Linked DNA regions of Homo sapiens: regions 2 and 3 are each linked to region 1. Evidence: promoter capture Hi-C in 16 types of primary human blood cells and fetal thymus (Javierre and others, 2016). All regions are on one chromosome and are shown on one strand. Each heading gives the region's core, a stretch centred on a gene start or on the middle of the fragment in contact. The rest is flanking DNA. Distances are from core to core; before and after follow the strand shown.

The links. The method cuts DNA at HindIII sites, captures the fragments that hold promoters and counts their contacts. A CHiCAGO score of 5 or more calls a contact.
Region 2: a contact is called between a fragment that was not itself captured here and the fragment with the promoter of LXN in region 1, in 1 of 17 cell types (erythroblasts). The highest score is 6.1, in erythroblasts.
Region 3: a fragment that was not itself captured here is called in contact with the fragment with the promoter of LXN in region 1 in 1 of 17 cell types (M0 macrophages); the score reaches 6.4 in M0 macrophages.

What each region holds. Positions count from the first base shown.
Region 1 is chr3:158,670,291-158,674,384 of GRCh38, reverse strand. It overlaps LXN (latexin), which reads left to right and starts at 1,737. Exons shown (of 6, transcript NM_020169.4): 1 at 1,737-2,035; 2 at 3,366-3,428. The coding sequence starts at 1,907. All of the region lies in intron 13 of GFM1 (G elongation factor mitochondrial 1), which reads right to left. RefSeq lists enhancers at 1,364-1,553, 1,864-1,913, 1,335-1,927, 2,354-2,413, 1,928-2,520. The HindIII fragment of the contact is 4,555 bases long and covers 1-4,094 here.
Region 2 is chr3:157,170,183-157,174,276 of GRCh38, reverse strand. LOC101928236 (a long non-coding RNA gene) reads right to left here and starts at 577. Exons shown (of 10, transcript XR_007096141.1): 1 at 1-577. It also overlaps the pseudogene RNA5SP146. The HindIII fragment of the contact is 1,250 bases long and covers 1,326-2,575 here.
Region 3 is chr3:157,612,075-157,616,168 of GRCh38, reverse strand. No RefSeq gene overlaps it. Among named protein-coding and RNA genes, the nearest start is that of VEPH1, 110 kb to the right of the region's middle. The HindIII fragment of the contact is 3,454 bases long and covers 644-4,094 here.

The DNA.
Region 1 (4,094 bases), core at 488-2,987:
AAATGCTGAACTAAGAAACGTGGAGAGGCCAGGCACGGTGGCTCATGCCTGTAATCCTAACACTTTGGGAGGCAGAGGAGGGAGGATTGCCTGAACTCAACATGGTGAAACCCCATCTCTACTAAAATACAAAAAAATTAGCCAGGTGTGGTGAAGTGCACCTGTAGTCCCAGATACTAGGGAGGCTGAGGCAGGAGAAATGCTTGAACCTGGGAGGTGGAGGTTGCAGTGAGCCGAGATCACGCCACTGCACTGCAGCCTAGGCAACAGAGCGAAACTCTGTCTCCAAAAAAAAAAAAAAAAAGGTCATGTGTGAAAGACAGTGTCTCGCAAAGCAAATTTCTCATACACGGACAAGACTGAGAAAAGTTTCATTGACATTTGATACAAGATGATGGGCAAGCAGACAGATGGTATTTAAAGGCAAAGTCAATCAGAACCCCCAAATCCCAGGAGACAATAATAAGCATGAAACTGAGGCCAAAGTCCAGAATCCAGATTTACTGCAGAATCTACATAATCAGAAAGAGATACACCTCAAGAGTCTTGGGTGTGTGCATTACTACCAAGTTAAAGGTCCTGGCCAGGCATGGTGGCTTATGCCTGTAATCCCAGCACTTTGGGAGGCTAAGGTGGGTGGATCACCTGAGGTCAGGAGTTTGAGACCAGCCTAGCCTAAACCCGTCTCTACTAAAAATACAAAAAACTAGCCGGGCATTGTGGTGGGCACCTGTAATCCCAGCTACTCTGGAGGCTGAGGCAGGAGAACTGCTTGAACCCAGGAGGCGGACGTTGCAGTGAGCCGAGATAGCACCATTGCACTCCAGCCTAGGCAACAAGAGTGAAATTCCATCTCAAAAAAAAAAAAAAAAAAAAGAAAAGAAAAGAAAAAAAGGTCTCAATCCAGGCAGCGAAGACCTTGGCCAAACTTTGGTAGAATCTCCAAGTTATCCTAGCCCAATTAACCTAAGACCACCAAGGATAAACCTGTACTTCTACAAAGTCAGGTTTATAGGCCCATTGCAATGAGGTAGACCACATACCAGAGAGAGTGCTTTGTATAAGTTCAGTTTTTAAGTTTATTTTAATCCTTGAAGTAAAATATTCAAAATGACTCAAGTTGGAAGCATGGCGTTACATCAAAACTTATCATTTTAAGATTAGTAAAGGAGAGGGGTACAGGTGCATTTTTTTATTTCTCCTGATCCAAATTACATAATCTCCCAATTTAATACTATAGTTTGCAGATTCTCATACTTTGATTTGGGCAGAACTGGTCCAAACCCACAAAAAGCTGAGGATGAGCAAGCCTCTTCCTGGACTCTCATAAGGGGAAGGGAAATGAAGGAATCGAATCACTACCTGGAGTACTGTGTACCTTGCCCTGCCAGGGACGCTGCATGCGGTGTATAAGGAAGTTGTGCTCCAGTATGCAAGCGAAGCAACCAGACTTTTTTCCCATGGACAGGAAACTAGAGTCTTCAGAGATGTCCTATATCAGCGAAAGCCCCACCCTGCACTTCTATAAAGGTTAATGAAACGAAAGATGCAATCCCAGCGAACCTAGCCCACTGACTCCCTCCCCACACCTCCACCTGCTGGTGCCTGACAAGCATGCTGGCCTCTCCTCCAGTAGGAACCAGCAGGCGGAGTAAGGAAGCCCGCTGCAGGCAGTAGTGGGGCGGGGCCTCAGAAGCAGTCAGCCCAGGGCTCTCGGATGCAGGGAGCCTGGGCCCAAACAGCAGCTTCCGGAGTCGGAAGGAGCTGAGGAAGAAGACTGACTGAAGGAGCTTGCGACTTTTCCGCCTCGGCAACCGGACCCAGCAGCAAGCAGGACGGGCGGCGCTCTGCTACTGGTCCCGTTAAGCCAGAGTAGCCCAAGCCCTGAAGTCACTGCTCATCCGGAATGGAAATCCCGCCGACCAACTACCCAGCCTCCAGGGCGGCCTTGGTGGCACAGAACTACATCAACTACCAGCAGGGGACCCCGCACAGGGTGTTTGAGGTGCAGAAGGTCAAACAAGCCAGCATGGAGGTGAGTTTAGCAGGGGGTGGTGGACAGCAGAGGCTTCAGGATTGCGCTCCCTCCACTCACCCGCGGTCTCAGCCTTTGGGTGCAGACACTCCGTGCCACCCCCTACCCACCTTCTGTTTTAGGACACACTGCTGGTATCTGGTCTTGAGATATTAAGGTTTCTGGGGGAATGTCTATACTCCAGTCTCTGGAGACAGCCCGGGACTGTTTTCACCTTAAGGCAGAGACAAAGTTTTTACGCACACAGTTACAAGAAAACGGGAACACGCTCTAGGTAAGGGGCAGCACTTTCCTTAAGTGTAAACTGTAGAAACCATTCAAAAGACTACTAAGGCTGCCACGTTTCTCATCTGCTACTCTGATCTGGACCAACAAAAGCTCCCATCTTCCAAGACTCTATTGCCTACATTTTAAGACAAATCCTTATCAGACCCTTTGACCAAAATGAAGGGGGAAACAAACAGCAAGAGAAACTGACAATCAAAGTCAAAGAATAAAAGCACTGTGGGCTGACGCTGGCCTTTAGCCACCCAAACACCGCTACCACATGACTGCCTTAAATGATGTGCACCCTCTGCTAAAGGCTTGAATTAAATGTTTAAGGCCTCAGCAATCACTAACGAGGTTTGTTTTCATTTTACGAAAATCTACTGGATTTGAGATTATCCCTTATTTATCTGACAGAATTTTAACTGCTAACAGTCTTTTAGAGGTGACACAGTAGATCTTATTTTGAAACTGTACCAGATAACAGAATTAGGTATAAATTTTCAATCTGTATCTTGATTTAAAAGTGAAATACCATTTCTTAGTCTTATATAATTTGTTAATCATTTTGCAGTTTCACTAATGTATAAGTAAAAACAATACTTAATTGTATTAAGTCTCCAATTGCTTTGCAGTAATCTGCCTCAAAATGAAATTCACATTCATTGAACATTATTTGGAGGGTACACTGAGCTTTATGAAAAAATCTTTTCAAAGGTGATATTGTCATCTTTAGAATTAAACGCTGTTTCAAACTTTCTTATGTAGAGACTTTAAGATCACAGATCCAGGGGTTAAATAAAGTCTTTTGATGATTGAAAGTGAATTGTGCCCAATTTGTATGCTTTTATCCTACTCTTTTGTTTTCATCCAAAATAAACTTGATAGGGGACTTGCTAAATTAGATGTTACATTCATGGTGACATGCCTTTTTCAAGACCTAAGGCTTTCACCATTCCCCTTCAGCCAGCCCCTCCAACCAAATGAGATGCATACTTCTAACAATGCAAGTATAATGTTGTTATAATATTTTCTTGTCTCCACTACATTTTCTTAATTTTAGGATATTCCAGGAAGAGGACATAAGTATCACCTTAAATTTGCTGTTGAAGAAATTATACAAAAAGTAAGTTAAATTTCTTTTTTCTTTGAGACAGGGTCTCACTCTATCACCCAGGCTGAAGTGCAGTGGCAGAACATGGCTCACTGCAGCCTCAACTTCCCGGGCTCAGGCCATCTTCCCACCTCAGCCTCCCCAAATAGCTGGGACCACAGGTGCATGCCACTACACCTGGCTAATTTTTGTGATCCTCCTGCCTCTGCCTCCCAAAGTGCTAGGATTACAAGCATGAGCTACCAAGCCCAGCCAAAATGTTCTTATTAAACAAATTTAATTCTAAATATTCCAGATCATCTTTGCTGATCAAATCTGTAAGATTGATTAGTTTTACCTCTTTTTAAAAAGTTGTTGTGAAATACCTGCCTCTGAAAAACACTGACCATATGGGCAAAGTTTACAAGGATCAGTTCTTTACTATCTTTGGGTATTCCTAGGTATATGAATTATTTCTACCAAACTACACAAAAAAAGACTATACACTTCAGTTCAAATGAATTTCTTAAGAAGTTACATACTCTTAGGGCAGTCTGAACTTATGCCTAATATAAATGAGTGAAGTAATTTATTCCCCAATCAATCATCTTCTTAACGTCTGCTTTTCTCATTCTATTTTTCACTGGGTTTTTAGAGAAAGAACGTGCTCTTAGATATTCAGAAGCAATAGAATGCCAG
Region 2 (4,094 bases), core at 701-3,200, 1.5 Mb after region 1:
ATGACTTATCTACTGCTACCTTTCTCCCTGAACTCCGTCAGCCCAGGGAAGAATCCAGGTTGGGATTTATGTTTACAGATCCAAAACTAAGCACAAGAGATCTTTAAATCCCATGACAAAACAGTGCCTGAAAGAGCTGACCACCAGATCCAGCTTTTGAGTTTGAAGCTGAGATCGTCCTGCATACAGCAGGATTGAGTGAATGAATATAAATAAATTATAGGTATAAAAACATGGTCCACAGCCACACCACCCTGAACTTGCCCTGTCTTCTCTGATCTTGGAAGCTAAGCAGGGTCTGACCTGCTTAGCTAGTCCTTGAATGCGAGACCACCTTGAAACACTGGGTGCCGCAGGCTTTTGAAAAATAAAATATATATATACGTTTGATCATTCCCTAATTTTGTAATTCTGAAAATTAAGTATACACTAGATATTTTTATATCTAAAGGCAAGACAGTAATCCAGCCAACATTTTACACTGATCCCTCTTTCCCACCTTAAGAAATAATTCAGGTGGGGTTTTTTTTTGTGTTTTTTGTATTTTTTTGAGGCAGCGTTTTGCTCTTGTCACCCAGGCTGGAGTGCAATGGGCGCGATCTTGGCTCACTGCAACCTGCGCCTTCTGGGTTCAAGTGAGTCTCCTGCCTCAGCCTCCTGAAGTAGCTGGGATTAGAGGCATGCGGCACCACACCTGGCTAACACCGCAAACGGGGTTTCACCATGTTGGTCACGCTGGTCTCCAACTCCTGACCTCAGGTGATCCAGCCACCTCGGCCTCCCAAAGCGCTGGGATTACAGGCGTGAGCCACCGCGTCTGGCCAGTTCAGGTGTTTTTTAAGAGATGAGGTCTCCTTATGTTGCCCAGGCTGGACTTGAACTCCTGGGATCAAGTTATCCTCTCGCCTTAGTCTCCTGAGTACCTGGTACTACAGCTGTGCCCAATCACACCTGCCTTAACTGTGTTGTTTTTGAGAGTCCAGTGATAGTATATGAAAATGCTGTGAAAACTATAAAAATCAGGTATCAAATATAAGTCGACTCTCAAGACTAGGATGTAGATACCTCTGAACGTTTCCTGATTGCTGAAAATAAAAGTCTTGTTCTGTGCTATTTTTAAGATGGGGCTGATAAGCAATATCCAGTTATGTGCTGTATGCATGTGCCTGCGTGTGTATGTGCATGTGTGTGTGACAGTGACACTATAAAGAAACAGTTCCCTGAGGCAAAACTAGACTAGGTCTCCAGTGACTTCAATGTTACAATGCACATAGTTTAAATCGAAATTCCCTCTAAAGCACCTTGTGGTAGATCTGGAGAAAGCTTGTTCTTTTAGTACTAAGGTATCATTGTTTTCACTGTGGTAACAAATGCTATACTTGTTCCAGAGAACCAACATTACAGTAGAGCCCTTGTGTGTGGTCATGGAAAGAACACTGGACTGGGCATCAGAAAAACCACCGTTCTAATTTCACTCTGCTACTGGATCTAAAATCTTGGTCGAGTCCTTTCACATCTCTGAACTTCCATTTCTTCACATGTAATGGTCTTTGTTCCTCTCCTGTATGCTCCTGTAGCATTCTACCCTTTCATGTAGCATTCCATGTACTCTATTTGTTCATCACTTTGGTCTTAGTGCCTAGCATAACATAGTTTAGTGAATACTCAGTAGAGATTTGTTAGAGTCATTCTAACTGTACAAAATTTCATTATGGGCCATTTTTCTTTGATACTGATATTTGTTAGAATGCTATTTACTGTGGAAGAATAATCCCATGGATTACTTATTAATTGCAAGGGTGTTAAGGTACTTTTACAATGGAGAAATCTGATGGATACCACCTTAACAAATGATAAAAAGTAGCCAATAATTGAACAAAAAATTGGGCATCGTGTGCCCCTAGATGTGAAGCATGGAGATACAACATTACCTATGGAGTATTCCTTGAAAAATCTTTAACCTGAATCTAATCATGAGGAAATAATCAGACACATCCAAATTTAGGAACATGCTTCAAAGTAGTTGGCCTGGAATTGTGAAAAATATCACAAGACACACACACACACACACACACACACACACACACACACACAAACTGCTATAGAATTTAAACAGACATGACAGCTATACGCAGGGAACTTGATGTGGTGCTGGTTTACTTTTGTTTTATAGTGTTCAAAATAGTTAATGAATGTGTTCCTGGGAGAAAACTAATTAAAATGTGTAGGGAGCTTCGGAATAGCTGATTCTCATTATTTATAAAAGTTTCCTCTTGAAATTCTATTTCTGTTGAATGTTTATTATGAAATAGAAAACATTACTAAAAGGGGTCAGCCACTTCATTGCTCAAAATAAAATTACAACTTAATCCTTAAGAGGAAAATGGAATCATTTTAAAAATGTCATTTCCAGGGACTTGCTAGGTCCTTTCTATTTTTAATTGTACAGGGCTATCTCCAGTCCCTGAAGTCACTGCTCCAGCCCCAGCTACTTCTGTAGCCCTCCTTCTCCTGTTTTCAAGTTTTGTAATTATTAGAGACAAACAATAAAAAGAAATGAACTACTAGAAAAGCTTGAAAAACTAAATGTTCTTAATATTACAGTTTCTGATTTATAGCTCTTGATTTTCTTGTTGAGGTAAACACTGCTTTAAACCCTCCAGAGTTTCTGAGAGTCCCCTAAAATGAGGGTCTGTTCCTCAGCCCTTCACATGCCTGACATGCCTGCCCTCGCCCACCTCTTCAGCCACATTAGTCCCTAGTATACACACGTATGCACCACATTCTAGCACACCACAGTATTTCTTGTGTCAGTCTTTCCATTAAGATGGGTTTAAGATTAAATAAGTAAAAAGGAGTTAAGTGTTCGTGTAACTGAAAATCCCAGCAGTAGAATACAGGGCATGGCTGCAGGGAAATAAACTAAGTGATTGGATTCTGTTTCTAGCTCTGGTCTCTGCTCTTTTCTCTGCTGGTTCCATTCTCCAGCTGGTTCTCTTTTGTGTCAAGATGGCACTCAGTAGCTCTGTGCTTAAATCCTCCTCTCAGTAATCCCAGCAAGAACAAGCACTTCTCTCTCCTCCCCTTGCAAGTGTTCCAGCAAGAGTTCTGGACATGACAGACATTCAGAACCAATCGCTGTGTGGGAGGGAAGGGCGATGGGAGACTCAGATTAGTTCACAAAGTAGGAAAGAGGTTAGTCCTACCCAAACCACTTTTGCTGAGAATGGAGAAGTTGCAGGTCCTCAAGGGAGAACTGAGGAAGGGAGACTGGGCACTGGGCAGGCTGAAACACAGATGTTCACTGTATTTCTCAATGCACCCAGCGATCTCATACCTCCCCATCTTGGCACCTGTTTTCCCTCTGCCTAAAATGGTCTTCCACACTTATCCTTCTGACCAATGTTTATGAATGTAGTCTTTAAAACCTAGACCACATATTACCTCCTTTTTGTTACCTTGTCAAAAAAAATTCCTCCATCCTCTGAACCCCTTCTGTGCATTGTATCTGTTTCTATTATTACCAGACTGAGTCAAAATTCTTTTTCAAGGCATGGCAATTCTATAAGTCATATATGTTCAGTGTAATATGTGTGTGTGTGTATCTATAGACTCCACATTCTAGCGTACCACAATATTCCTTTTATCAGTCTTTCCATTAAGTTGGATTTAAGATTAAATAAATAAAAAGGAGTTATGTATTCATGTAACTGAAAATCCTAGGGGTAGAATATAGGGCATGTCTGCAGGGACATAAATTAATATATTTTTATACATATATATTAATTTACATATATATTAATTTACATATATATTAATTTATATATATTTAATGCCATTCAAAAAGTGGCCTGTGGCCCAAGGACTGGCACCTGACTCTGAACTTATTACCCATCTTCAACGAGGTAAGTGAAGAATTGAGAGTAAACGTTTAGAAACTTTTATGGCATGTTGACAGAATAATTTGATGTCTGTTGAATCTAATGATAAACAATGCAGGCTTGTATTTTCAATGTCTTTAAAAATTTCAGCTGGATGAGGTGACTCAGGCCTGTAATCTCATCAATTTGGGAGGCTCAGGAGTTTGAGACTAG
Region 3 (4,094 bases), core at 1,121-3,620, 1.1 Mb after region 1:
GCTTGAAGAACTGGAGCCATTCAGTGATACGCTGCCCTGGGTCACAGATGGCCACATGGAGTGACTGCCCCCATCCCAAAGAAGAAGAAAGGATTCCCCCCGCCTTCCTCCCTGTCTCCATCAGGAACCTACATGATGCTTCCTTCTCCTGTGGCAGACGACTCTCCTCTGTCCACCCTAGAATTGATCTATGAAATATAAAACTAAGTCACCAAATGAGAGAATAGCCAATTGCCAGAAAACACAATAAGCAGCTGAATTCTTGTGCTCTTCTGAAATGACCCCAATATACTCAGTAGGTACCATGTGTCAGGCACTGCAGTAGGCAGGGGGTGGGAAAGAAGAGGCCTAGGGCCCCACTCATGCTCCCTTAGAAGGAAAGATGCAAAGTGGTATGACTTACTACAATCCATGGTGGAGTGAAGCGTCATGTCACCTCTTTGTGCATTGGTTGTTTCTTTTCCATTGTCAAATGGAGATAATAACACCACCTATGTTGTAGGGTTGTTTTGAGGAAAAGACCCATACACTTAACATGTGGCCTGGTACATAATAATACATGCTATGCACCAACATCCTTCTCCTCATCATCACCATTGAGATAATGACCGTGTTAGACTTTGGGTGACATTAGGGGTAAGCTTTGATGGCTGGAATTGGGCAGATAGAGAGGTTTGTAGCAAGAGCAGTGTGGTGCTCTGGGTGAGGGAATTATTCTGAAATAAAGTCAATGGGTGGAAAAGCTGAAAGAGAGAGGTTGAGTTTAGGGAACTCTTAGAAATGTGGCTTGGCAGGAAAGCAGGCCTGTGAAGGGAGCGGTGAGCCAGTGTGATGAAGGACCTGCAACTCTGAGGTGAGGAGTTTGAATGGATAAGCAGTGGAGACCCACCAAAGACATCTATTGATTAGGGTAAGATAAGGAGATAGGTATTTCCTCTGAGTAAAGTAAACATAGACAGGGAAAAATCAAGGCAAGGGAGACCAGTCAGGTAGCAGTAAATCATCCAAACGACTGAAAGGTAAGCACTTTGACCTGGTGTATCCTGACCAGGGTGACTCAGAAATCCAGACACCGTTACTCCCTGTTCTTTCTCCTCTGAAGTGTGGCTTCTATTCAAACAGAGCAATGGGAATCACCATTGTCAGAAGCTGAACTCACATGCCCATTGCCCAATGCCCCATACAGGAGAAATTTAATGAAAACCCAAGTCCATTTCCTCTAAGATTGTGACTTCTAGTCTTTCCTGGAGCTTAAAAGGAAGGCTGAGACAAAGTTCGGATGAAAGTTTGCAGAGCACCACTGACCTCAGCTCCTGGTCTGAGGACAGCCTGTCTCAGAGACTCCCTTGCCTCTTCTTTCTGGGATTGTGATTGGTGGGTGCAGCCTGAGACGTGGTTGGCTGAAGAAGTCTCTTCGTGAGGGAATTAAGCTACTGTGGCTTCATAGGAGGCCAGTTCCAGAGCCGTCTCACCTCCCATTTACCTTCATCCTCTCCTGTGGAACTGGTGTTTTCCTTAGGCCCAAAAGGAGACAAGAGCTGTGAGAGAGGGAGGTGAGGTTTTTTTTGTTTTTTGTTGTTGTTTGTTTGTTTGTTTGTTTGTTTTGAGATGGAGTTTCGCTGTCGTCACCCAGCCTGGAGTGCAATGGCACGATCTCGGCTCAATGCAACCTCCACTTCCTAGGTTCAAGAGATTCTCCTGCCTCAGCCTCTCAAGTAGCTGGGATTACAAGCACCTGCCACCATGGCCAGCTAATTTTTGTATTTTTAGTAGAGACGGGGTTTCGCCATGTTTGCCAGGATGGTCTCGATCTCCTGACCTCAGATGATCCATCTGCCGAGTTTGGCCTCCTAAAGTGGTGGGATTACAGGCAGGAGTCTTTTGAGAGGATCCATCACAATGGTTGGGCAGAAGCTCAATGATTCTAACTTGGCTCATGAATGGCGTGGGGGTAGGAAACACAGCCAAAATATTGGCTATGATTTGAATGTGTCCCCTCCAAAATTCAAGTGTTGCAGTGTGATAATATAAAGATATGAGGCCTTAAGTGATTGGGGCATGAGGGCTTCTCCTGGTGAATGGGATCAAGGCCCTTATAAAAGTGCCTCTGCACGCAGGCTCATTTGCTTGGTCTTCTGCTAGCCCCCTTCCAAAGGATACAGCCTCCACCAGACACCAAACCTGATGGTGCCTTGATCTTGGACCCTCCAACCTCCAGAACTGTGGGAAGTAAATTTCTGTCTGTTATAAATTACCTGGTCTGCGATACTCATAGCACACAAAACAGGCTAAGACATCATCCATATTCACATCTGTGTATTGGTTAATTTTTACTTGGGAAACAGTTTTAGTTCCTTCTGCTAATATAGAATGTAGGGATTCTAGGCCTAAAATGTGACAGTCAGTGTTTACCTCCTCACCCCCACCCTGGTTTTTGTTCAATACAATCAAATAAGAAACCTGCAGCACCTCGTGGTATGGCAGTGGCCACTGGATGGAGCTGGGAATGAAGTGCTGGGCTCCCAGGCTCTGCTGACCCCTGCGGTGCCACTGGGTGAGCCATCTCACCTCCCTCCTTTTCCTTTCCTCGTCTGCGCAATGATGGGGTCCTCTTGCCATCTAAAACTCTTTTCCAGTCTTAGAAAAGGCGAGGGCCAGGCATAGTCATGTCCATTTTAGTTTTATTCCCAAACTGTTTTCCTCACTGATTAACTAGAACAGATTTGGGACTGTGGGAAAGAAAAATATGAATGGTGAGGATGGGGTGCCACCGTGCCAGGAGCTGTCCTCAGCACAAGTGAGTCTGGATGGCGCAGGTTTCCTGGCAACTGGGTGGCACAGGTCAGCTCCCAGAGGGTAGCTATTGGTCCGATGCCTTTTCTCTCTGCTTGATGCTAAACTACAGAGAAAATAAGCCCCATGACTCTTTGGAAATTTATTTTCAAGGACAATGATCATCATGAACATCTTTATCAAATAAAGAAACCGTTTAAAAAAATCTCTGTCTTGTTACACTTACATGACTATGTGGAGTTTTTTCAGGGACTGACAACAGGTTTCTGTCGCCCCTTAACTGGCCCCTTCTAAGATGTTGGGACCAGGGCTCAGTCTTAGAATCTGTAGGGAATGTTGGAGTAGACAGTCCCTGAGGCACACTTTCTCAGAACATGGTATGTGTCTAAACATACATTCAGATATAGCCCACCCTCCACGGAAGCAAGAACACTGCTGGGCAGCCAGCTAGGCCCACTCACTAGCAAAGAACTCATTTCTGCCTTTCTGCAAGGGTGATTCAAATTCACCCTTCCACAAGATAGTCACGGGCCTTCCACAGCCCACATTGTTTGCCAAAGATCTGTGGTCCTGCCTGACCCCACAGGTGAAGCAGTGGGGAGAATGTCCTGCAGTTCTTCCCATCTGACTTTGCAGCAGGCCTTTAGCTTCCTGGCCTGTGCTGTACTGGAAGTGGGATCTACCCTCTGAGCCCTCAACAGGCCTAAGTAATAGCTGGGGAGATAGAGACTCCTGCCCTGTTGGCTGATTCTTCTGTCCCTCGGGGTGCATTGTTGCTCTTTGTAGCACCAGAGGGGAAGGAGCGTATTCTTGGCCTGACACTGGCAGAAGAGAAGCCATGTCAGTCTGCCCAAGAACAGCTGGGCCCCAAACAAAGCTGGAGGCTCCTGTTATGCATGCTCCTTTGGGGCTGCTGATCTGCTTTTTAAAATAAACCTGTTTTCCAAGTATCAGATCTGAGATGATGCCAAGATTAAAAGAGCTTCCTTTCATTTTCCTTTTTCCCTCTGGGATGCCATTATGGAATAAGAAGCTGTCACCAGCCTTACCTGGATTACTCTCTAGAAGGAAAGACATCTGGTGGTATTTTTTTCCTTCAGGATAAATATTTTACCTAACTTATCAAAGCCAAATTTCTGGCCCCTTCATCCCATGACTTTAAGCCAGTGTCTGTCCTTTGTGCAAATCTGATTTTGGATTTAAAGTTCCGCAAGGCTTCTTTTGTGGTGGGTTCATGAGTTTTCAGAAGAGAGTGAGAGAGAGGAATAGGGGCTATTTGCTTCATATCGCCCCAGAAGGAA